Linked DNA regions of Homo sapiens: all the other regions are linked to region 5. Evidence: promoter capture Hi-C in human tissues and cell types (Jung and others, 2019). All regions are on one chromosome and are shown on one strand. Each heading gives the region's core, a stretch centred on a gene start or on the middle of the fragment in contact. The rest is flanking DNA. Distances are from core to core; before and after follow the strand shown. Region 1 has its middle 12 kb from the start of S100B. Region 2 overlaps MCM3AP (minichromosome maintenance complex component 3 associated protein). Region 3 overlaps YBEY (ybeY metalloendoribonuclease). Region 4 overlaps LSS (lanosterol synthase). Region 5 holds the start of DIP2A (disco interacting protein 2 homolog A). Region 6 overlaps MCM3AP (minichromosome maintenance complex component 3 associated protein).

Region 1 (3,738 bases), core at 169-2,668, 130 kb after region 5:
AAAAATGTGGAAGCAACTTTGGAACTGAGTAACAGGCTGAGGTTGGAACAGTTTGGAGGGCTCAGAAGAGACAGAAAATTGTGGGAAAGTTTGGAACTTCCTGGAGATTTGTTGAATGGCTTTGACCAAAAGCCTGATAGCGATATGAACAATAAGGTCCAGGCTGAGGTGGTCTCAGATGGAGATGAGGAACTTGTTGGGAACTGGAACAAAGGTGACTCTTACGTTTTAGCAAAGAGACTGGTGGCATTTTTCCCCTGTTGTAGAGATATCTGGAACTTGGAGCTTGAGAGAGATGATTCAGGGTATCTTGCAGAAGAAATTTCTAAGCAGCAAAGCATTCAAGATGTGACTTGGGTGCTGTTAACGGCACTCAGTTTGATAAGGGAAACAGAGCATAAAAGTTCAAAAAATTTGCAGCCTGACAATGTGGTAGAAAAGAAAAACCCACTTTCTGAGGAGAAATTGAAGCCGGCTGCATAAATTTGCATAAATAACAAGGAGCTGAATATTAATCCTCTAGACAGTGGGGAAAATGTCTCCAGGGCATGTTAGAGGTCTTCACAGCAGCCCCTCCTATCACAGTCCTGGAAGCCTGGGAGAAAACAGTTTCATGGGCCAGGCCCAGGGTCCCTGTGTTGTGTGCAGTCTAGGGGCTTGGTTCTCTGCATCCCAGCCACTCCAGCTGTGACTGGAAGGAGCCAAGGTGCAGCTTGGGCTGTTACCCAAGGGTGGCGGCCCCAAGCCTTGGCAGCTTCCACGTGGTGTTGAGCCTGTAGGTGCACAGAAGTCAAGAATTAAAGTTTGGAAACCTCCACCTAGATTCCAGAAGATGTATGGAAATGCCTGGATGCCCAAGCAAAAGTCTGCTGCAGGGGTGGGGCCCTCACGGAGAATCTCTGCTGGGGCAGTGCAGAAGGGAAATGTGGGGTTGGAGCCCCCACACAGAGTTCCTCCTGGGGCACTGCCTAGTGGAGCAGTGAGAAGAGGGTCACAATCCTCCAGACTCCAGAATGGTAGATCCACAGACAGCTTGCACTGTGGGCCTGGAAAAGCTGCCGACACTCAATGCCATCCCATGAAAGCAGCCAGGAGGGAGGCTGTACCCTGCAAAGCCACAGGGGCTGAGCTGCCCAAGACCATGGGAATCCACCTCTTGCCTCAGTGTGATCTGGATGTGAGACATGGAGTCAAAGGAGATCATTTTGGAGCTTTAAGATTTGACTGCCCCACTGGATTTCAGATTTGCATGGGGTCTGTAGCCCCAGCATTTTGGCCAATGTCTCCTATTTAGAATGGCTGTATTTATCCAATGCCTGTAGCCCTACTCTATCTACGAAGTAACTAACTTGCTTTTGATTTTGCAGGCTTATAGGCAGAAGGGACTTGCCTTGTCTCAGATGAGACTTTGGACTGTGGGCTTTTGAGTTAATGCTGAAGTAAGACTTTGGGGGACTGTTGGGAAGGCATGATTGGTTTTGAAATGTGAGGACATGAGATTTGGGAGGGGCCAGGGGTGGAATGATATGGTCTGCCTGTGTCCCCACCCAAATCTCATCTTGTATTCCCATGTGTTGTGGGAGGGACTTGGTGGGCAGTAACTGCATCATGGGGGCAGGTCTTTCCTGTGTTGTTCTCATAATAGTAAGTCTCACAAAATCTGATGGTTAGTATAAGGGAGAGTTTTCCTGCACAAGCTCTCACTCTGTCGTTGCCTGCTGCCATCCACATAAGATGTGACTTGCTCCTTCTTGCCTTCTGCCATGATTGTGAGGCTTCCCCAGCCACGTGGAACTGTGAATTCTCCATTAAACCTCTTTCCTTTGTATGTTGCCCAGTCTCAGGTATGTCTTTATCAGAAGTGTGAAAATGGACTAATACAAGGACTTGGGGAAAGGGTGGGAAGGGAGTGAGGGATAAAATACTATAAATAGGGTGCAGTGTATATTGCTCGGGTGATGGGTACACCAAAATCTCGCAAATCACCACCAAAGAACTTATTAGTGTAACCAAACACCACCTGTTTCCCAATAACCTATGCAAATAAAATAAAATTTAAAAATTGCTACAGAAAAGGAAAAAAAAACCTGAATGCCAAGCTCCAAATCTCAGATAAATCCATGGACCGGATTGAGAACCTCTCTTCCCATTTGATGTGCTTTCCTCTGATTGACCCCCACCCTTCACCTATTTTACATATACCTACCCTTCCCTAATTGTTTTTTTTTACATTTTTACATTGTTGTTTCCATCTTTGAGTGGTGCCTTTGTTTTAGCCTTTTTTGCATACTCACAAACCAATCACCACACACTCCCCCATTCTGAGCCCATAAAAGCCCCAGACTTGGCCAGGTGCGGTGGCTCATGCCTGTAATCCCAGCACTTTGGGAGGCCGAGGTGGGCAGATCACAAGGTCAGGAGATTGAGACCATCCTGGCTAACACGGTGAAACCCCGTCTCTACTAAAAATACAAAAATTAGCCAGGCGTGGCAGCATGCGCCTGTAGTCCCAGCTGCTGGGGAGGCTGAGGCAGGAGAATAACATGAACCCGCGAGGCGGAGCTTGCAGTGAGCTGAGATCGCACCACTGCACTCCAGCCTGGGCGACAGAGCGAGACTCCATCCAAAAAAAAAAAAAGGCCCCGGACTCAGCCACACTTGCAGGGACTGCCCACCTTCAGGCACAGGGAGGACTACCTGATTTTGGGTAAGGGTAGTGCACCCAACTCGTGTCCCCCTCTCTGCTGAGAGCTGTTTTGTCACTCGATAAAATTCTCCGCCCTGCTCACTCTTTGGTTGTCTGCATAACCTCATTCTTCTTGGACGCGGGACAAGAACCTGGGACCCGCTGAACAGCAGGTGCAAAAAGGAGCTGTAACACTGTAGCCCTCCTTTACTCCCCTGATGCCAGCTGGCCCATGCAATGGGAGTGTTGGTGGGGCCAGGCCAGCCTGGGAGCCATGGGCCAGAGTGGGGTGATGGGAATAACTGAACAGAGGTCCTGCTGGCTAAAGAAGCTTCCAGCTGGCAAAGCAGCAACAACAACAAAAATCCTGCATCAACCTCGGTAAACACAGAAAAAGCTTTTGAAAAAAATCCAAAACCCTAAGAATATAAGGGAAATTTACCTGATAAAGGGCAACTACAAAAACCCACAGTTAACATACTCAATGGATACTTAATGGATCCTTCCTCACAACTGAGATCAGGAACACCCAGGGGCTGGGGATTTCACAAGATGTGAAGACCAGTAGGAAAGGGTGGGGTGCACTTTAGTGCACTATCTGCACACCACCCAACACTCCTACTTTCTTGAATGAGGAGACTGCAGTCCAGAGGGGCCTGGCTACTGTAAGCCTGGGCAAAGGCAGTGATGTCCCTGCTCAGGAATCCTTGGGTATTAGAGAAGCTGAGGCCTTTTCCACTCTCTGCCTTGCACAGTCAACTCTTGAGTGAGGGGGCTGGTACACCCAGAGGATGGTCACAATTCCTCTAGAGGTATAATCTAGGCAGACAGTGCTGTCTTGCTGATCTGGTGTTATTAACTTCCCTGAGGAAAAAAATCACCTGAATTCTTGTTTGATCAGTCTCACAGCTAAAAACCCCAGGGAGTCATGGTCCCACTTCAGACCTGGGGGGCCTGGTACTTGGGATATGTAGCAAGATCCCAGCAGAGTTTTGTGCAGTGAGCTGTAGGGGGCCATGGGACCCAATATGCCCTCTGCAGTGTCCCCCACC
Region 2 (3,540 bases), core at 118-2,617, 220 kb before region 5:
GGTGAGGAGACCAAGGATTAGGCTCCACTCCTATTATGAAGATGAACAGTTTTTAGAGTATCATGGAGTTGGAGAAGGTACTTCAAGGATCTCTATGGGGAACAAGAAGGAACAGCAAAGTTCCACCATCCTGTGCCCTTTCTGTTCAGGTTTATTGTTGTGAATGAGAATTTTTTTTTTTTTAACATGTTGTGGATCTATCTATCTGATCACCTTATTGAACTGAGAATGGTTCTATGGACTTGACTTTTCTTGGACTGACAACTGTACTGTCTGGAAATGACAGTTTCTCCTTCCTTTCAGTATTTGTGCCTGTCTATCCCACATCCCTGTACTGGTCAGGATTTCCAGGACAATAGTGAATAATAGTCGGGACAACAGGCTGGTTCTGATTCCACTGTTCCTAACATTCTACCAAGAAGCATGTTTTTTTTCTATTTTGGTAGTTTTATGTTAGGTAGCCTTATCAAGTTAGGACTTTTTTTTTTTTTAACCCAAGCTAAAGAAAGTACCCAAAATAAAGAAATTTTATCAGGAACAGGTATAAATTTTAAGAAACGTATTTCAACGCCTGCTAAAATTACCACTTATTTTTCTATTATGGCAACAAATTACATTAATAGATTTTCACTGTTATTGTTTATCCTGGGAGAAAGCATACTTGTGAACTTTTTTAGGTACTGTGCTTTGGAACCAAATTTGGAAGTGAGATGAAATGTCAGCTGTACTCTCCTGGTTAGGTATGATTTCAGGGTCAGGTATGCCTGATAAATGAAGTGAGATGCTTTAACTTTGTTCTAGAATAGTTTCTACTGCATGGGAATGATCTGTTCCTTGAGGATTTGTCACAGTCTGCCCACAGTGGACTGGATTTGGCATGTAGGATGTTAATTTCTATTTACTTTGCAAGAAAAATACAGTTTAGCAAGCAACAGAAACATACTGAACATGAACCTCACCGTCCCTCTCTCAGCTGTAGCTCCTTCTGCGTCTGCAACCTGGCTTGTTCCCACGACAAAGGAACATCATATTTTTTCAAATCGTTTTTAAAAAAATACACACATATCTGACCATCTTCACTCAGCGCCTCTGAGAAAACAATACAAAAACAGATAAAGAGGCCAGCCTGGCCAACCCTGTCTCAAAAAAAAAAAAAACACACACAAAAAAACAAAAACAGGTACAAATAATATTTAAACAGCGACAGGTGGCATGTGCTTAAATTCACTGATTTAAGTGCAAGACCTTTGATTAAAGTCACACAATTATGTGACTTCCACACTTGGGTTAAATAGGCTCCCAGGGTCCATGCATCACTCAAAGTCCAGACAAGCTTACATCGAGACTGGCAGGGCCAGTAATGACTACTCAAAAGCCACAAAATCCTCTCTAAGAGCCATCCTAGGGGGCCTGTTTCAGGGAGGTGAGTTCAGGCTCTACCAGAAACTTCCTAGCCTGTCTCAATGTTTTTAAGTCACTCACTTGAAGAGGGAAGTCCTAAGGAAAGGAAGGATAGAGACCCAAAAGAAAAGCAGCAACATCAACTAAACATCTTCCTTTGCAGAAACTGGACCAGGAAAGTCTCGTGAGGAGCTGATCCCATTGCATCAAGCTCTAATTACCTGATGTAACAGGAAGCCGGGGGGGCGTCCAGTCTCTCAGCTTGTGGTTGATACACAAGGCGATAAGATCATCCCATGGGATCTCCATGACCGAGGGGCCTGCCCCATGGACTGGGGAGGGACTCTTGCTCTTCCACCTACAGTAGGTTCTGTGGAGCAGGTTCTCCACCTGGGACTGGAGGACAGGCTGTGTCTGGCGTGAGCTGGGGATCTGGGAGGCGTACTGGACAACCATGGAGCACACGGGGAGCCAGGGGGCTGGGGAGAAAGTGCCTCATTAGTTACAGGTTTGGCCAAAATACAGGTGAAAATGTACATGAAAACATTTTCTCAGGAGAAGGCAACTGTGAAGTTGAGAAGTCTGCTTTCTAAACACAGCAGAACCACAGTTGTTGAGGGGGAAGAGCAGCTTGCTCCCAGGGTCTAGGTGAGGGATGCAGACAGTCCCCCTTAACAGTGTTGCTAGCCAAGTTCTACCCAGAAGTTCTGACTGTACAGGCCTGTGGTTGTGCCTAGGAAATCTGTATTTTAACAAGCACCCAGATGAGTCTGGTATAAGCAGTCTTAGCTTATTTTGGGGAACCCCAACCTAACCAGAGCACCGAGGGCTTGTGCTGAGTGGTTTGCTTCCCTTTGGGTTCCTTCAATAATGAGCATGAGTTAGACCTACTACAGACCACACACCACAATTTAGAAGGGCGCCTGAGGCCCAAAGGGGAGTGTCTGTGCTAATGCCACAACTTCTGCCAGATAAGCAGCTCATTCCCTTCTGAGTGCATAGGAAGGAGCAGCCCCATGCCATACTGGGCTTGAGCCAGCCAGATGGCCTGTCGGATCTGTGTCAAAACAGCCCAAAGACCTCAGCCAGGAACAGGGGCACAGCCAGAGCCATAGAAGAAGGCCTCTTTGACAAAGAAAGAATGTTAAATCAGCACTGAGTGCCATGGCTGCGGCTTGGGGACAGGGCTACATGGTCCCCATGCTCTTTGCCCCTTGTCTGTTCTGAAAACAGGGACCCTGTGGGCAGGCAGGACAGGATCAGGGTTGGTGTTCCTCCCAGTACCACTTGTCACTTTTCTCCTGAAGCTGAGTGAACTCCCATGGACTGCCTTGCTGGTCAGGAAAGGCTAACAGCCCCCACTCCACAAAACCCAGCTTGTTCTGGCTCATGAACCCAAAGGACCAAAGGAAGGTGCAGGCGAGCACAGCATGGAGACACACGGAGGTGGACGTGCAGCCCTCACACTGGTGCCCAACACCTGCCAGACGGTTACTACAGTGAGAAGGAAGCCTGAGACTTGGCTGCAGCCACCCACCAGACCTCCCCAGGTCAAGCACGTACCCCCCAGGGGTGGAAGGTCCATCTGCGGAAGCTGGAACCCGAGCACAGCCTGCTTCAGCCAGGCCAGGTGCTCTGGGGCATTCCAGTGCAGGTGAGGAAGCAGCCGGCTGCCCCCTGCCTCAGCAAACTCAGTGACAGGCCAGGACAGGTCACACAGCTGTTCAGAGGACACCACAGAAGCCAGGAACTGCAGCACACTGTTAAACAGCTCAATGATGGCGCCAGGCTCCTGAGAAGCAAGACCGCCCAGACGCCTCTCTCTTCTGTCATGGAAAAAGCGGCCACTAAACTCATGGCCAATCCCGTCTTCGACGTACTGAATGAGAGTCTGGCAGCAGAGGTCAAGGGAATGGGGGCAGTGGGAAACCAGCCACTGCACTGCTTGCAAAACCTGAGAAGAAAGAAGAGACTTGGTTGAACAATTCACACTGTTTTTCAAAAACAGCTTTCTGAAAGGGCTTGATCCCCCAAGGTTGCCCACAGCAGGTAATACCAGAGTACTGGGCTCTCAACTGTGGTAGGAAGGGGAACAGAAGTGTCCTATGCAGTTGAGTTTAGCCTTCTAGGGCTCTGGAG
Region 3 (3,909 bases), core at 984-3,483, 170 kb before region 5:
GGCTGGAGTGCAATGGCACAATCTCGGCTCACTGCAACCTCCACCTCTCAGGTCCAAGCGATTCTCCTGCTTCAGCCTCCCGAGTAGCTGGGATTACAGGCGCCCACCACCACATCTGGCTAATTTTTTTTTTTTTGTATTTTTAGTAAAGTTGGGGTTTCACCATGTTGGCCAAGCTGGTCTAGAACTCCTGACCTCAGGTGATCTACCCGCCTCTGCCTTCCAAAGTGCTGGGATTACAGGCGTGAGCCACTGAGCCCCGCCTGGCAAAGGTTTTTAAAGGAAAAAAACATAATTGTTTTGAGATAATGATCCTTGGTTGCAAAGATCAATAACAAGATTAATGTCCGTCCAAGGTTAGACAGGCAGTTGCTGGGCAGATTATCCTTGCAGAAGTTTCTGTGTGCGTGTAAGGTTGTCATAGCCTTTGTGCAAGGTTGCAGTTTTGTGTGTGTGTAAGGTTGTCATAGCCTTTGTGCAAGGTTGCAGTTTCGTGTGTGTGTGTAAGGTTGTCATAGCCTTTGTGCAAGGTTGCAGTTTTGTATGTGTGTAAGGTTGTCATAGCCTTTGTTGCAGTTTTTGCCATCTTTAGTGACAGTTTTTGTTATCAGGCATGGAAGTATGAGAATCCTCTCTTCATAGCTTTCCCCAGCTCTATTTGTCAGGTTTTTTGGTTTGTTTGTATAACCCTAATGGCTCCATTTTTATTCTGACAAATTCCTTTTTTTTTTTGAGACGGAGTCTTGCTCTGTCAGCCAGGCTGAAGTGCAATGGCGCAGTCTAGGGGCTCACTGCAACCTCCGCCTCCCAGGTTCAAGCGATTCTCCTGCCTCAGCCTCCCGAGTAGCTGGGGTTACAGGCATGTGCCATCACACCTGGCTAATTTTTGTATTTTTAGTAGAGATGGGGTTTCACCATGTTGGTCAGGCTGGTGTCAAACCCCTGACCTCTTGATCTGCCCGCCTCGGCCTCCCAAAGTGCTGGGATTACAGCTGTGAGCCACCACGCCTGGCTATTCTGACAATTTTCACAATGGAAACAATTTAGGGCACTTGTGTACGGTTGGCTGGGCAACCCACCCGCCACAGGCCCAGCTGCCACTCTGGCCTGAGACATGCATCTTAAGAGTGATTTGGGTGGCTGGCACAGTGGCTCACGCCTGTAATCCCAGCACTCTGGGAGGCTGAGGCAGGCAGATCACCTGAGGTCAGGAGTTCGAGACCAGCCTGACCCATATGATGAAACCCCATCTCTACTAAAAAATACAAAAATTAGGCCAGACGCGGTGGCTCACGCCTGTAATCCCAGCACTTTCGGAGGCCAAGGCGGGTGGATCACCTGAGGTTGGGAGTTTGAGACCAGCCTGACCAACACGGAGAAACCCAGTCTCTACTAAAAATACAAAATTAGCCGGGCGTGGTGGCGCATGCCTGTAGTCCCAGCTACTCGGGAGGCTGAGGCAGGAGAATTGCTTGAACCCAGGAGGCGGACACTCCAGCCTGGGCAACAAGAGGGAAACTCTGTCTCAGGAAAAAAAAAAAAAAAAGAAATACAAAAATTAGCTGGGCACGGTGGCATGCACCTGTAATCCCAGCTACTCAGGAGGCTGAGACAGGAGAATCACTTGAACCCGGGAGGCAGAGGTTGCAGTGAGCCGAGATCGCGCCATTCCACTGCAGCCTGGGCAACAAGAGTGAAACTCCGTCTCAAAAAAAAAAAAAAAAAAAGTGATTTGGCTCAGAGATAAGTGCTTATTTGCCTTGGGATTAACCAGGATGAAACCTGTCAACCTGTGGTTGGGTTACGTTTCCTGTTCTCTAAGTCTACATTTCCTCATTTTTTAGCATCTGAAAGCAGGTGAATTTCCCCAGCCTGATTTTCCAGATGACTACAATTTGGGAGACATTTTCCTAGGAGTGGAGTATATCTTCCATCAGTGTAAAGAAAATGAAGATTACAATGACGTCCTGACTGTAAGCGGGGATGCTGAAATCATATAACCTGGCTCATGGAACATGGGCCTTGCAAAGGGGTCAAGATCACAACCCTGCATCCATGTGTGTCCGTGGGTACCGTAAGGGCTACTGGGGGAAGAACCTGTAAGCAGGGTGTGAGGAGCACCCAGGCTGGGTAGGGACTGCATGCCCCATGCCACAGTTGAAGGAGGGAGAGAACACGCTGTGAAAACACAGAAGCTCCCAGAGAAGCCTTCTCAGCTTTTATCTCTGGAGTAGAGCAGACTATGTTGAGCTAACACAGACCTGCTGAATCAGCTTCTTTCTGAGCTGCCAGAAGTACAGAAGTTGGAGCCTCCACCACCTTCCAGATCTGTTTCTCCTCAGTGTAATCCACCTATGGGTTCTTCCTGCCCACTGCACAGACAAAACCAATTCACTGCAATTGTGGTATTGCAGTAGAGAAAGAGTTTAACACAGAGCTAGCCAAGCAGAAAGGCTGGAGTTATTATTCAACTCAATCTCCCAGAGAACTCAGAGGCTACAGTTTCTACAGGCAATTTGGCAGGCAGGGGCTAGGGAATGCCTGCTGCTGATCGGCTGCAGACGGACCATGGGGTGTCAACGATTTTTGTCCCCTGAGTCCGCCTCTGCGTGGAGCCACGGGATCAGCTGAGTCATGAGTCTCAGGTCCAGGTGGAGTCTGTAGGTTGCCAGAACTCAAAAGTCTGAAAAACATCCCAAAAGACCATTCTTAGGTTGTACTATTGACGTTATCTTATTGGGGAGCAATTGGGGCGGTCACAAATCTCGTGACCTCTGGCTGCGTGAGTCCTGAGCAGTAGGGAATTACAGCAGGGCAAGCTGGGGAAGCAAGGCCTGCGGGCTGGTTCTCCTCAGGACACCTACATCTGAGCAGAATTCAGGCCCCTCCCATCATCCTAATCTTGTGGCCCTTCACAAGCTTCACAGAGGTGGCTTCGGTCTTGAGCAAGGAGGGGATTCGTTTTAGGGAGGGATGATTACTATTCTTGATTTAAAGTTAAACTCTAGATTAAATTCCTCCCGTGGTTAGCTTGGCCTGTGCCCGGGACTGAGTGGGGACAGCCACGCAAGTTAAACTCTAGATTAAATTCCTCCCGCGGTTAGCCTGACCCGTGCCCGGGACTCAGTGGGGACAGCCACGCAAGTTAAACTCTAGATTAAATTCCTCCCGCGGTTAGCCTGACCCGTGCCCGGGACTCAGTGGGGACAGCCACGCAAGTTAGACTCTAGATTAAATTCCTCCCGCGGTTAGCCTGACCCGTGCCCGGGACTCAGTGGAGTCAGCCACACAAGTTAAACTCTAGATTAAATTCCTCCCGCGGTTAGCCTGACCCGTGCCCGGGACTCAGTGGAGTCAGCCACGCAAGTTAAACTCTAGATTAAATTCCTCCCGCGGTTAGCCTGACCCGTGCCCGGGACTCAGTGGGGACAGCCACACAAGTTAGACTCTAGATTAAATTCCTCCCGCGGTTAGCCTGACCCGTGCCCGGGACTCAGTGGGGACAGCCACACAAGTTAAACTCTAGATTAAATTCCTCCCGCGGTTAGCCTGACCTGTGCCCGGGACTCAGTGGGGACAGCCACGCAAGTTAAACTCTAGATTAAATTCCTCCCGCGGTTAGCCTGACCCGTGCCCGGGACTCAGTGGAGTCAGCCACACAAGTTAAACTCTAGATTAAATTCCTCCCGCGGTTAGCCTGACCCGTGCCCGGGACTCAGTGGGGACAGCCACGCAAGTTAAACTCTAGATTAAATTCCTCCCGCGGTTAGCCTGACCCGTGCCCGGGACTCAGTGGGGACAGCCACACAAGTTAAACTCTAGATTAAATTCCTCCCGCGGTTAGCCTGACCCGTGCCCGGGACTCAGTGGAGTCAGCCACGCAAGTTAGACTCTAGATTAAATTCCTCC
Region 4 (3,825 bases), core at 1,118-3,617, 260 kb before region 5:
CCTGGATCACGTGGGAGGACAGGTCATGAAGCCCTGAGGGTAGAGCCTGGATCACGTGGGAGGACAGGTCATGAAGCCCTGAGGGTAGAGCCTGGATCATGTGGGAGGACAGGTCATGAAGCCCTGAGGGTAGAGCCTGGATCATGTGGGAGGACAGGTCATGAAGCCCTCAGGGTAGGGTGCCACCCACTAAAGAATTCTAGTCAGAGTAAACAGGAGCACTTTTCAGTATTTTTGTAACTTTTCTATAAATTTGTGAATTTAAGGGAGAATTTAAGTCTGTCTAGTAAAATAGAATATTCCATATAAATAGTGTTAAAGTAACTTGCAACTCCAAACTGTATCTCAAAAACTCTCCAGGTAAGTTTAAAATCTTTTTTTTTTTTTTGAGACGGTGTCTTGCACTCTCGCCTAGGCTGGAGTGCAGTGGCACCATCTCGGCTCACTGCAAGCTCCACCTCCCGGGTTCACGCCATTCTCCTGCCTCAGCCTCCCGAGTAGCTGGGACTACAAGCGCCCGCCACCACGCCCGGCTAATTTTTGTATTTTTAGTAGACAAGGTTTCACCGTGTTAGCCAGGATGGTCTCGATCTCCTGACCTTGTGATCCACCCGCCTCGGCCTCCCAAAGTGCTGGGATTACAGGCGTCAGCCACTGCGCCCGGCAAGTTTAAAATCTTAATATAGGCCGGGCGCGGTGGCTCACGCCTGTAATCCCAGCACTTTGGGAGGCCGAGGCGGGCGGATCACGAGGTCAGGAGATCGAGACCATCCTGGCTAAAACGGTGAAACCCCGTCTCTACTAAAAATACAAAAAATTAGCCGGGCGTAGTGGCGGGCGCCTGTAGTCCCAGCTACTTGGGAGGCTGAGGCAGGAGAATGGCGTGAACCCGGGAGGCGGAGCTTGCAGTGAGCCGAGATCCCGCCACTGCACTCCAGCCTGGGCGACAGAGCGAGACTCCGTCTCAAAAAAAAAAAAAATAAATAAAATAAAATCTTAATATAAAAATCACACTAATATATTTAACCATTTAAAAGTTAAAAACTTATGTTCATACTCCCTAAAGAGATAAAAAGAACAAAGAAATTGAGGGGAAAATATCTGTAACATAATACACAAATACTTACTGTGCTTAAAAATGAAAGAAAAAACTTCCTGGTGAAAATTTTAAAAATGGCTGGGTGTGGTGGCTCACTCTGTAATCCCAGCATTTGGGGAGGCCGAGGTGGGAGGATTGCTTGAGCCCAGCAGTTCAAGACCAGCCTGAGCAACATTTAAAAAATACAAAACATTTAAAAAATTAGCCACAGGTGATGGTATGCACCTGTAGTCCCAGCTACTCAGGAGGCTGAGGTGGGAGGATTGCTTGAGCCCGGAAGTTTGAGACTGTGGTGAGCCATGATTTTGCTACTGCACTCCAGCCTAGGTAACAGAGTGAGACCCTGCTTCAAACAAATAAACAAAAAAAGAATGTTCTAGCTTGGAAGTCACCAAAGAAATGCAGAGGAAGCCCGCGATTAAGTCACCATTGCTCCCCTGCGGGCCACATCCGGGACTCATTGTTCTACACAGTGACAACAACTGACATGTGCTTCCCTGTGGCATCTCACACAATCCCACCACTCTGTGAGGCTGTACTGTTGCCCACTCAGGCAGGGAGAGAGATGAGCAGAGAAGAGAAGTCACCAGGCCAGGTCAGACAGCCAGAAGGGGCAGGGATGGGGGCTGACCCAGGCAGGTGGACCCCAAGCCATGTGGCTCTAGGGAATAATAATGGTCATGAATAAATATTTAACAAGAAAATACCAGTTAAGGTTAAAATGGGGAAAAGCTAAAAAACAACAAGGAAAACTGAAAAATAACCCAGAGGCTACTGAGTAAAATGACACAACACCTGTGCCATTACTGCTCGTGCTGGAGGAGCGCGCTCAATGGTGGGGCTTTTAGAAACCTCACCAGGCACAAAGTGGGCCAGGCGTGAAAGGGGCAGCAAGCCGCCATGGAAATGTGGAGACCAAACAGCAACAGCAGATTCTCCTTCAGGGGCGAGGAGGGGCGACTTAGCTTCTTCTTTGCGCTTCTCTGTATTTTGCAAGTCTTGTTTGCAAAGAACCTGCTTTACTTTTATTACAGTGATTTTTAAAAGATGATCTATTTTTTAAAAGGCCAATTCTCTAAATGTGGCTGAGGACAACTCACGCCCACCTCATGCCGCAGAGCAGCACATGGCCGAGGGCCACGCCAGGCCGACAGAAGACCCTGGACACAGTGCCCTCCTAGCTGCACCTGTGAAGCACAAGAAAACCCCTGCTCCATCCACGGCTTCCAAAAAAACCACACCAGAACATTCTCAGATTGTAAATGAAGCAGCATACTCCCACATAACTCATGGGCCAGAGAAGAACAGTAGAAACAGAAAACACTTTTAGTATCTGTGCTACCACAGCAAGCACCAGAACACACATTTAACTGAATGATATCTCAAAACTCATTTATAGCCTCAAATTCATATTTCAATAAAAGCCTGAAAATCAAATATCTAAGTATTCAAGTTAGAAAAATAAAGGAGAAAGAAAATAGCAAAGGCCAGTGTGGTGGCTCACACCTGTAATCCCAGCACTCTGGGAGGCCAAGGAAGGTGGATCACCTGAGGTCAGGAGTTCAAGACCAGCTTGGACAACATGGTAAAACCCTGTCTCTAATAAAAATACCAAAAAATTGGCCAGTCATGGTGGTCAGCACCTGTAGTCCCAGCTACTCGGGAGGCTGAGGCAGGAGAATCGCTTGAACCCCGGAAACGGAGGTTGCAGTGAACTGAGATCACGCCACTGCTCCCCAACCTCAGCAACAGAGCAAGACTCCATCTCAAAAAAATTAAGAAAGAAAGAAAATAACAAACAATAGAAATTGATGAAACCAAAAATAAAGTCTCTTTAAAAACAGAATCAAAGACTAAGATTTTTTTTTTTTCAAAAGATCAGTATAAGATTCTCAGAAGGAAGAGGAGGATGTCAGCGTTGGGCTCAGAGCCATCTAAGAGGACACTGAACAACTTTGCATGAATCAGTGTAAAGCTGAGTGGAAATGGGAAGACTCCCCAGACTGATACAAAAATGGAAAATCTGCTCAGTCCTATAAACTATTAAAGAAATTACACCGCACTCCAGCCTGAGTGAGAGAGCTAGAACCCATCTCAAAAAAAAAAGAAAGAAAGAAAGAAAGAAAGAAATTGAACTTCTAATTTAAAAACTTTCCTCAAAGAAATCTCCAGGCCCAACTGGCATTTCCGGTAATTTTTCCCAAACATTTAAGGCAGAAATATTATGAATATTACATAAATTCTTCCAAAGAGTATTTTAAAAGCATTTTCCAACTGCTTTTCTAAGTCCAGCATCATCTTAACAGGAAAACCTGACAAAAACATTATAAAGAAAAAAAAATTATAGACCAGCGTCTCTTGTAACCAGAGTTGCTAAAATCCTAACAAAATATTCTTCAAATTGAATCTAGCAATATATAAAAAGGACAGTGCATTGTGACCAAGGTGAGTCTACACCAGGTTGAACAAAAGTAAAAAAATGTAATCGTGATAGGATAAAGAAGAACCTACAAAAATCACATACCCTATAACGTACCCTCTAACACAGCAATGCCACTCCTAGGTACGTGACCATGAGAAATGGGTACCCAGGTGCCCCCAAAAGATAAGTACAAGAGTGTTCACAGTAGATGCTTCATAATAACCCAGACTGAAATCCTCCCAGGTGCTGAGAACAGGCAGCTGGATAGCGCGGCATCTGTGTTCAACCGAAGGCCCGAGGGAGA
Region 5 (3,563 bases), core at 279-2,778:
GACCACAGCCGTGGCCACCATGCCCGGCTAATTTTTTGTGTTTTCAGTAGAGATGGGGTTTTGTCATGTTGCCCAAGCTGGTCTTGAACTCCTGAACTCAAGCAATCTTCCCGCCTTGGCCTCCCAAAGTGCTGGGATTACAGGTGTGAGCCACTGTGCCCAGCCTCATCTTTTCTTAGCAGGGATCCAAACTTAGTGGAAGAGTATTGCCTTGTTTGGGTGTTTTGCTATTTTTGGAGTTCAGTCAAACAGGGATGTTAATTCCTGGGCCTGGTTCTTGTCTTTGACCTGCTGCAGTAAATGAAGCTTCTCTATATGTAACGGGACAGATTCACTGGCTTACAACTGTTTGTTGCTTGCCTTCAGCTGACCACTATTCTTAAGAGTCTCGGTTGGCACTAAGCAATAGCTATCCAATCCCCCTTTCCTTCCTTTTATCTACTACGTTCACCATATATGAAATGTCTGATACTTCACCCACTCGTGGATTCCATTTCACTAGTTCACCCTCCTACTTCACCACTGGTGAGTGATGCAGCCTCGAATCCCATCTTCTCACCAGCTTTAATGCTGCAGAATGGTTTCTCCAGAAGCAGACGCTGCGACTGAGTTTGGGGTACGAGGATGTTGACATGGTATCAACACCCGTGAAAGGAAGGGGAAGGAAGCAGGACTGGGCGGAGGAAGAAGGGTATGTAAGTCCCGCAAAGCTTTGGCCAACCTCGTGTGGAGCTCTGGAACGAGAACTGCTGAAGTTCGCCAGACTCGGGCACTCCTGCCTAACTCAGTAACAGGCGGGCGGCATCGGGACACGGACACGCTGCTCAGGCCCCGCCACAGCCACCCTCGCACCGTCAGACACACTCCCACACATTCGGGGAGCAGGGCCTTCAGGACGCCGGCGGCGCCCTCTCAGTCTAGCTCCGCCAGGCCCCTCGTCCGTCCTCCCGCCCTCCAAGGTCACCTCGCGGTCCGACATGGCTGCTGGGGCTCCTTCGGGGCCAACGATGTGTACTTCTAGGGCTGTTTTTTAAAGCAAAGGAGTGAACACAGGTAAAGGCACGAGAAAGGTGCCTCGACGCCACCACGGACTGCGCAGCGTTCGCGATCAGCACAGCCCGAAAGGGAAGACAGCGGTCAACGCGGACGCGCCATGGCGCGGGGACCAAGGAGGAGCCCCGAGAGGGGCGGGGCTGGCCGGAGGGCCGCGCGCGGGGCCACCAGCGGCGCCTAGGGGTCAGCGCCAACGCCCACGGGTTGGTCATCCCCACTTAGGCGCCTCGGGCCGCAACTAAGCAGCCTGCCCGCCTCAAGCCCGCCACCCTCAAGCAGGCCCAGCGCAGAGCCTGTCGGGAGCGGCGCTCTCCCGCCTCTCCCAATGGGAGCCCGGAGCGGCATCGACGCGTCTTCGGGGCCAATGGAAGCGAGGCTCTGGTGTTGCTGGGCGGGGCCGGGAGGGCTGCGCGGGCCCGAGACCCACTGCGCACGCGCGCTCGCTACCCGCCCTTCCCGCCGCGCACGCGCTCCCGTGTAGGGCCGGCCGGGCGCTCAGGAGCGCGCGGGGCAGCGGCGGCGCGGCGGAGCCATCCGCGCTCGTGCCCGCGCGGGTGCGTTGCTGTCCTGGCCGCGCCCCTGTCCCGCCGCCTCCCGCTCCTCGCCTGGCGGATGTAGGTTGTTGGCCTGAGGGGAGCTACGTAGCCGAGGTTTGCGCTGCCGCCGCCAGGCCCGGTCCGGTTCCAGCCTCTGCCCGGACGCTAGCCGGCCTGGCCATGGCTGACCGCGGGTGCCCGCTGGAGGCGGCGCCGCTGCCTGCCGAGGTGCGGGAGAGCCTGGCTGAGCTGGAGCTGGAGCTGTCGGAAGGTGAGCCGGACCCCGCCCTCAACCCCCGCGACCCGCCCTCAGCCCGGTCCCCCGCGCAGCCCCTCACTCCGGGACCCCCGCGCGGCCCCTCACTCCAGGACCCCCGCCCTTCACCCCCGGGACCCCCACGCGGCCTCGCCCCTGGGACCTCTGCCCCTCAACGGGACCCCGGTTCCTCTACCCTGGAACCCGCCCCTCGCCCCGGAGACACCGTTCCTCAACCCTAGGACCCCGCCCCTCATGTGGGACCCCAGCACGACCCCTCGCCCCGAGACCCCGGCCCCTTACCCCCGGGAACTCCCGCCCCTCACCCCCGGGACCTCCTGCCCCTCACCCCCGGAACCCCGCGCGGCCCCTCACCCCGGGGACCCCGCCCTTCACCCTGGGAGCCCCGCGCTGCCCCTCCGGACTCCCGACCCTCAGCCCCGGGACACCCGCGCGGCCCCTCAAACCAGGGACCACTGCCCCGCCTCTCATACAAGGACCCCTCCCCCATACAAGGACTCCTCCCCCCAGGCCCTTCACACCTGGGACCCTTACTCCTCACCCCGGGACGCCTGCCAAACTTCTGGAGACCTTTCCCTATCCCCAGCTGCTCCCCCAATGGGATCCGACCCCAAGGACTGGCTTTGACTAGGTCGTTTGGACAGGTGTGAGAATCTTGAGAGGAATGACCACTTTTGCCCCAAGCTGTGAGCCCCGCTTTTCTCAAGGCTGTAGGTCTGGGCTTGGTCTGGGCTTCACCAGGATGACTGCGCCCGTTGTCCGCAGGCAGCTACTTCCCTTGGAGCTGGGAGCCCTTGCCGCGCGCCTCATACTCTAGGAGCTGCACCCTGTGCCTCATTTTATTATCTATAAAGTGGGGTTATACCAGCACTTTCCATTTTGGATTGTTATGAGGCTAAAATACCTTAATATATGCAAAGCACATAACACTTAGGAGTTGTTAGCCCCCTCATGGAATTTTTTAAAGTAAAAAAAAAAAGTCGTATAAATGGTTGGTTGATAAAAATAGACTGGAGTAATCTGGCTTCAGAGGTGGTGGGTGGCATTTCCCATTTGGATGTTATCCCTTTCAAGGCCTGTGTCCTGATATTCCTTTTGGCTGTCTTTGGGAAAGAGTTAAGTTCTTCTCCAGTGTCAGAAAGGACTTGCAGTCCTTGAAGAAAAGCATGTAATTGATTCTTACTCTGTTTTTGAGATCTAAATGCATTTTCAGCTTTTAGAATCCATTTTTTAAATAATCTTATTATCCTTAATTTAAGTTTCAGATTGATAAGATTTTGCTGGGTCTGGGGTAGTTATTTCTCAAAACATCTAAATAATATGCACTAGCATACAGTAAGTCATTTAATCCTTGCCAACCTTAGGGAGGTAGATGCTGTTGTGATCTTGTTTTACATATAATACAACATGTACTTGCAACTATTTTGAATTCAGCATTCAGATTTTTAACAATGTTGTGACATGTGGCACATTTTTTTTTTTTGAGACGGAGTCTTGCTCTGTTGCCCAGGCTGGAGTGCAATGGCGTGATCTCGGCTCACTGCAACCTCTGCCTCCCAGGTAGAAATGATTCTTCTGCCTCAGCCTCCCGAGTAGCTGGGATTACAGGGGCTTGCCACCACGCCCAGCTAATTTTCGTATTTTTAGTAGAGGCAAGGTATCACCATGTTGACCAGGCTGGTCTCAAACTCCTGACC
Region 6 (3,588 bases), core at 1,089-3,588, 200 kb before region 5:
TTTGGGAGGCCAAGGCGGGCGGACTGCCTGAGCTCAAGAGTTCAAGACCAGCCTGCGCAACACAGTGAAACCCAATCTCTACTAAAATACAAAAAATTAGCCGGGCATGGTGGTGGGCGACTGTGGTCCCAGCTACTTGGGAGGCTGAGGCAGGAGAATCCCTTGAACCCAGGAGGTGGAGGTTGCAGTGAGCCGAGATCACACCACTGCACTCCAGGCTGTGTGTACCAGCAAGGCTCCGTCTCAAAAAAAAAAAAAAAAAAAAAAAAAGATACATATATCCCTTGACCCACAGCCACCACTGATAGGAATTTATCTCCACACACGTGCCTGTGTGCAAACGGGTGAGATGTCTGTCTGTACAACAACAGTCACTGCAACAGTCTTTACCAGAGCTAAAAAGAGCTACGTCCAGGCTCGGTGGCTCACGCCTGTAATCCCAGCACTTTGGGAGGCCGAGGCGGGCGGATCACGAGGTCAGGAGTTCGAGAGCAGCCTGGCCAATATGGTGAAACCCCATCTCTACTAAAAATAAAAAAAACAAAATTAGCCGAGCATGGTGGCGCACGCCTGTAGTCCCAGCTACTCAGGAGGCTGAGGCAGAAGAATCACTTGAACCTGGGAGGTGGAGGTTGCAGTGAGCTGTGATTGCGCCACTGCACTCCAGCCTGGGCGACAGAGTGAGACTCCATCTCAAAAAAAAAAAAAAAAAGAGCCACATGAAAGTCCATCAACAGAAGACCAGGAAGGTCATTTATGGTACATTATCGCACTGACCTCAAGACCACTGGCAACGGGGACAGCTCAGCATGCTGCTACAGCCAAGCCTCCACCTCATATCAGATGGAGCAAAGGAAGGCTCAGAGCAAAGCAGGGATCATGAGCCCATCTGTGCCAAGAGCCACAAGAAAGGACAGAAAGTCTCTGGATGGTTTCGCAAGCAGCTGCTGCTCGCACAATGGACAGGGGTCTGTTGTAGAAGGAAGACTCACTTCTCCCCATACTCCCTTTTATACTGTTCCAACTACCAAGGACACTATTACTGATTTTAAATTTTATTATGAAATGAATCATACAACATACGTAACACATATATGCCCAGTTATAAGATTAATAAATCATCAAGCACCTGTGCACTTACACCCAGTTGAGAAGTTGTGGCCATGAGAGGCACCACCTCCCATTCCCAAAAGTAACCACTATGCTGAGATTATGATCATTATTTTCCTTCTTTTCTTTAGGGTTATACCACTATATATAAATCTGAAACAACCTATTTAGTTTGAATATACACTATTTGTATATTCCCTATTAATTGCTTTTTCTCCACTACTTATATTTTGAGAATTCACCCTTATTGGTGCATGCAGCCATAATCTGGCTTGTTCATAGCTGTCTCCCAGCACCTAGTGCAGTGGGCAAATGGCAGGCACCCTATAAATATCAGTTGACATACAGAGTAGCCACCACGTCCCAATCTAACTCCTGACTTTTCCCCTTATATTGTATGTGTGTGTGTGTGTGTGTGTAATCAAGTATTTCTGAAATGCAGTATAATCCAATTAGTCTATTTTAGGTATTCATTGCTATAACATTTTCCCTCATCCTTTTACCACTGAATACAGAAACTAATAGCTCATATATTTTGAATTTGTTAAAAGACTCTTCCCCGTGTGTGTGGATTTTGCCTGTAGGAACACAGGACTCACCGCTGTAGATACTTGCAGAAGCACTGAAGCTCCTGGAGGGTCTCCTTTGCAGTCTGGAAGATTTCCTCCACGAGAAACAAGTCCACTAAGTGGGCACAGACATCCTCACAGCAACGGGCCACACGGACCCTCTGGTCTGTCTCTACTGCATTCCTAGAAACAGGGCAATCAGCATGGAAGACACTGCACTTGGGGCCCACAGACACTGAGGGCTTGCTTGAAAAGTGCAAGAGTCAGTCAGGCGCGGTGGCTCACGCCTGTAATCCCAGCACTTTGGAAGGCCGAAGCGGGTGGATCATGAGGTCAAGAGATCCAGACCATCCTGGCTAACATGGTGAAACCCTGTCTCTACTAAAAATACAAAAAAATTAGCCTGGTGTGGTGGCGGGCGCCTGTAGTCCCAGCTACTCGGGAGGCTGAAGCAGGAGAATGACGTGAAGCCGGGAGGCAGAGCTTGCAGTGAGCAGAGATCGCGCCACTGCACTCCAGCCTGGACGACAGAGCGAGACTCCGTCTCAAAAAAAAAAAAAAAAGAAAAGTGCAAGAGTCGGCCAGGCACAGTGGCTTACACCTGTAATCCTAGCTCTTTGCGAGGCCAAAGCAGGCAAATCACTTCAGGTCAGGAGTTCGAAACCAGCTTGGCCATCATGGTAGAACCCCGTCTCTACTAAAAATACAAAAAATTAGCTGGCGGCCAGGCACGGTGGCTCATGCCTGTAATCCCAGCACTTTGGGAGGCCAGGGCAGGCGGATCACGAGGTCAGGAGATCGAGACTATCCTGGCTAACACGGTGAAACCCCGTCTCTACTAAAAATATGAAAAATTAGCCAGGCATATTGGCAGGCTCCTGTAGTCCCAGCTACTCAGGAGGCTGAGAATGGCGTGAACCCGGGAGGCGGAGCTTGCAGTGAGCCGAGATGGCACCACTGCACTCCAGCTTGGGTAACAGAGTAAAACTCCATTTCAAAAAAAAAAAAAAAAAAAAAATTAGCTGGGCATGGCGGTGCATGCCTGTAATTCCAGCTACTTGGGAGGCTGAGCTAGGAGAATCGCTTGAACCCAGGAGGCAGAGGTTGCAGTGAACCCAGATCACGCCACTGCACTCCAGTGTGGGCGACAGAGCAAGACTCCGTCTTTAAAAAAAAAAAGTGCAAGAGTCTGCATCCTCAGTATTAAAATGTAATTCTATCTTCATTGTAAAAGAAGCTTTAATACTTAAACTACAGACACCTAGAAAGACAGGGTAAAAAGAATTAAGTGGAACAGGGTGCCAAATTATAGGTCCATAGGGGCCCTCGTAACAGTTAAGAAATAAACCTTTATCTTAATAAAATAGTCAGAATTTTTAATTATTTTAGAGACAGGGTCTCACTATGTTGCCCAGGCTGGAGTACAGTGGCCACCACAGGTGCAGTCATAGCACACTACCTGGAACTTCTGAGCTTAAGTGATCTTTGCACCTCAGTCTCTTGAGTTGCTGGGACTACAGGTGCCTGGCGTAGAATTTGTAAATTACCATGCAGACAACCACAAAATCTTCTCATCAGCAACATCTGACTTGTGCAATCAATTGGAAGTGTCTCAAATATATGATAAATGCCAGTGGCTAATAAGGATGGCTGACTATGATCATGTGGTGGCAGCCCTCATATAAAAGAGAATTTTTTATAATAAAATTCTATTAGCCAAGGGAGCACAGAGGACTGCATCAAATACATTTGGTCACAAAATCAAAGTAGCTTAGACAGGCAAGATCCATTTCCAATAGCCCATCCTCAGTGGTGCAAGACACAGCCTAGGGCAGAGCCAAAGCTCACTCTCCTGGCACAGCAAGACACCAGCGTTTCACTTACTTCAACTCCTGGGAGCAGGTTTCCC

What was found. The method cuts DNA at HindIII sites, captures the fragments that hold promoters and counts their contacts. A contact is called where the count stands out against the background at its distance.
Region 1: a contact is called between a fragment that was not itself captured here and the fragment with the promoter of DIP2A in region 5, in 4 of the 25 tissues and cell types used here (H1 embryonic stem cells, dorsolateral prefrontal cortex, lymphoblastoid cells and 1 more).
Region 2: a contact is called between a fragment that was not itself captured here and the fragment with the promoter of DIP2A in region 5, in 4 of the 25 tissues and cell types used here (IMR-90 fibroblasts, dorsolateral prefrontal cortex, lymphoblastoid cells and 1 more).
Region 3: a contact is called between a fragment that was not itself captured here and the fragment with the promoter of DIP2A in region 5, in 3 of the 25 tissues and cell types used here (dorsolateral prefrontal cortex, lymphoblastoid cells and mesenchymal stem cells).
Region 4: a fragment that was not itself captured here is called in contact with the fragment with the promoter of DIP2A in region 5 in 2 of the 25 tissues and cell types used here (dorsolateral prefrontal cortex and mesenchymal stem cells).
Region 6: a contact is called between a fragment that was not itself captured here and the fragment with the promoter of DIP2A in region 5, in 1 of the 25 tissues and cell types used here (lymphoblastoid cells).

The regions. Positions count from the first base shown.
Region 1 is chr21:46,591,665-46,595,402 of GRCh38, forward strand. No RefSeq gene overlaps it. Among named protein-coding and RNA genes, the nearest start is that of S100B, 12 kb to the right of the region's middle. The HindIII fragment of the contact is 3,264 bases long and covers 1-3,050 here.
Region 2 is chr21:46,241,843-46,245,382 of GRCh38, forward strand. MCM3AP (minichromosome maintenance complex component 3 associated protein) reads right to left here. Exons shown (of 28, transcript NM_003906.5): 23 at 2,965-3,355; 24 at 1,623-1,880; 25 at 960-1,089. All of the region lies in intron 3 of MCM3AP-AS1 (MCM3AP antisense RNA 1), which reads left to right. Among named protein-coding and RNA genes, the nearest start is that of MCM3AP-AS1, 14 kb to the left of the region's middle. The HindIII fragment of the contact is 7,439 bases long and covers 1-3,540 here.
Region 3 is chr21:46,289,490-46,293,398 of GRCh38, forward strand. YBEY (ybeY metalloendoribonuclease) reads left to right here. Exons shown (of 5, transcript NM_001314025.2): 3 at 1,845-1,973. Among named protein-coding and RNA genes, the nearest start is that of YBEY, 5.1 kb to the left of the region's middle. RefSeq lists enhancers at 1-322, 323-904. The HindIII fragment of the contact is 7,396 bases long and covers 1-3,909 here.
Region 4 is chr21:46,201,428-46,205,252 of GRCh38, forward strand. All of the region lies in intron 17 of LSS (lanosterol synthase), which reads right to left. Among named protein-coding and RNA genes, the nearest start is that of SNORD159, 9.2 kb to the left of the region's middle. RefSeq lists an enhancer at 1-426. The HindIII fragment of the contact is 6,573 bases long and covers 1-3,825 here.
Region 5 is chr21:46,457,363-46,460,925 of GRCh38, forward strand. It overlaps DIP2A (disco interacting protein 2 homolog A), which reads left to right and starts at 1,529. Exons shown (of 38, transcript NM_015151.4): 1 at 1,529-1,860. The coding sequence starts at 1,770. It overlaps LOC124905046 (a long non-coding RNA gene), which reads right to left and starts at 1,351. Exons shown (of 2, transcript XR_007067915.1): 1 at 965-1,351. RefSeq lists enhancers at 743-882, 2,653-2,722 and silencers at 1,123-1,672, 1,863-1,932. The HindIII fragment of the contact is 5,308 bases long and covers 509-3,563 here.
Region 6 is chr21:46,257,230-46,260,817 of GRCh38, forward strand. It overlaps MCM3AP (minichromosome maintenance complex component 3 associated protein), which reads right to left. Exons shown (of 28, transcript NM_003906.5): 15 at 3,564-3,588; 16 at 1,710-1,862. Among named protein-coding and RNA genes, the nearest start is that of MCM3AP, 27 kb to the right of the region's middle. The HindIII fragment of the contact is 8,306 bases long and covers 1-3,588 here.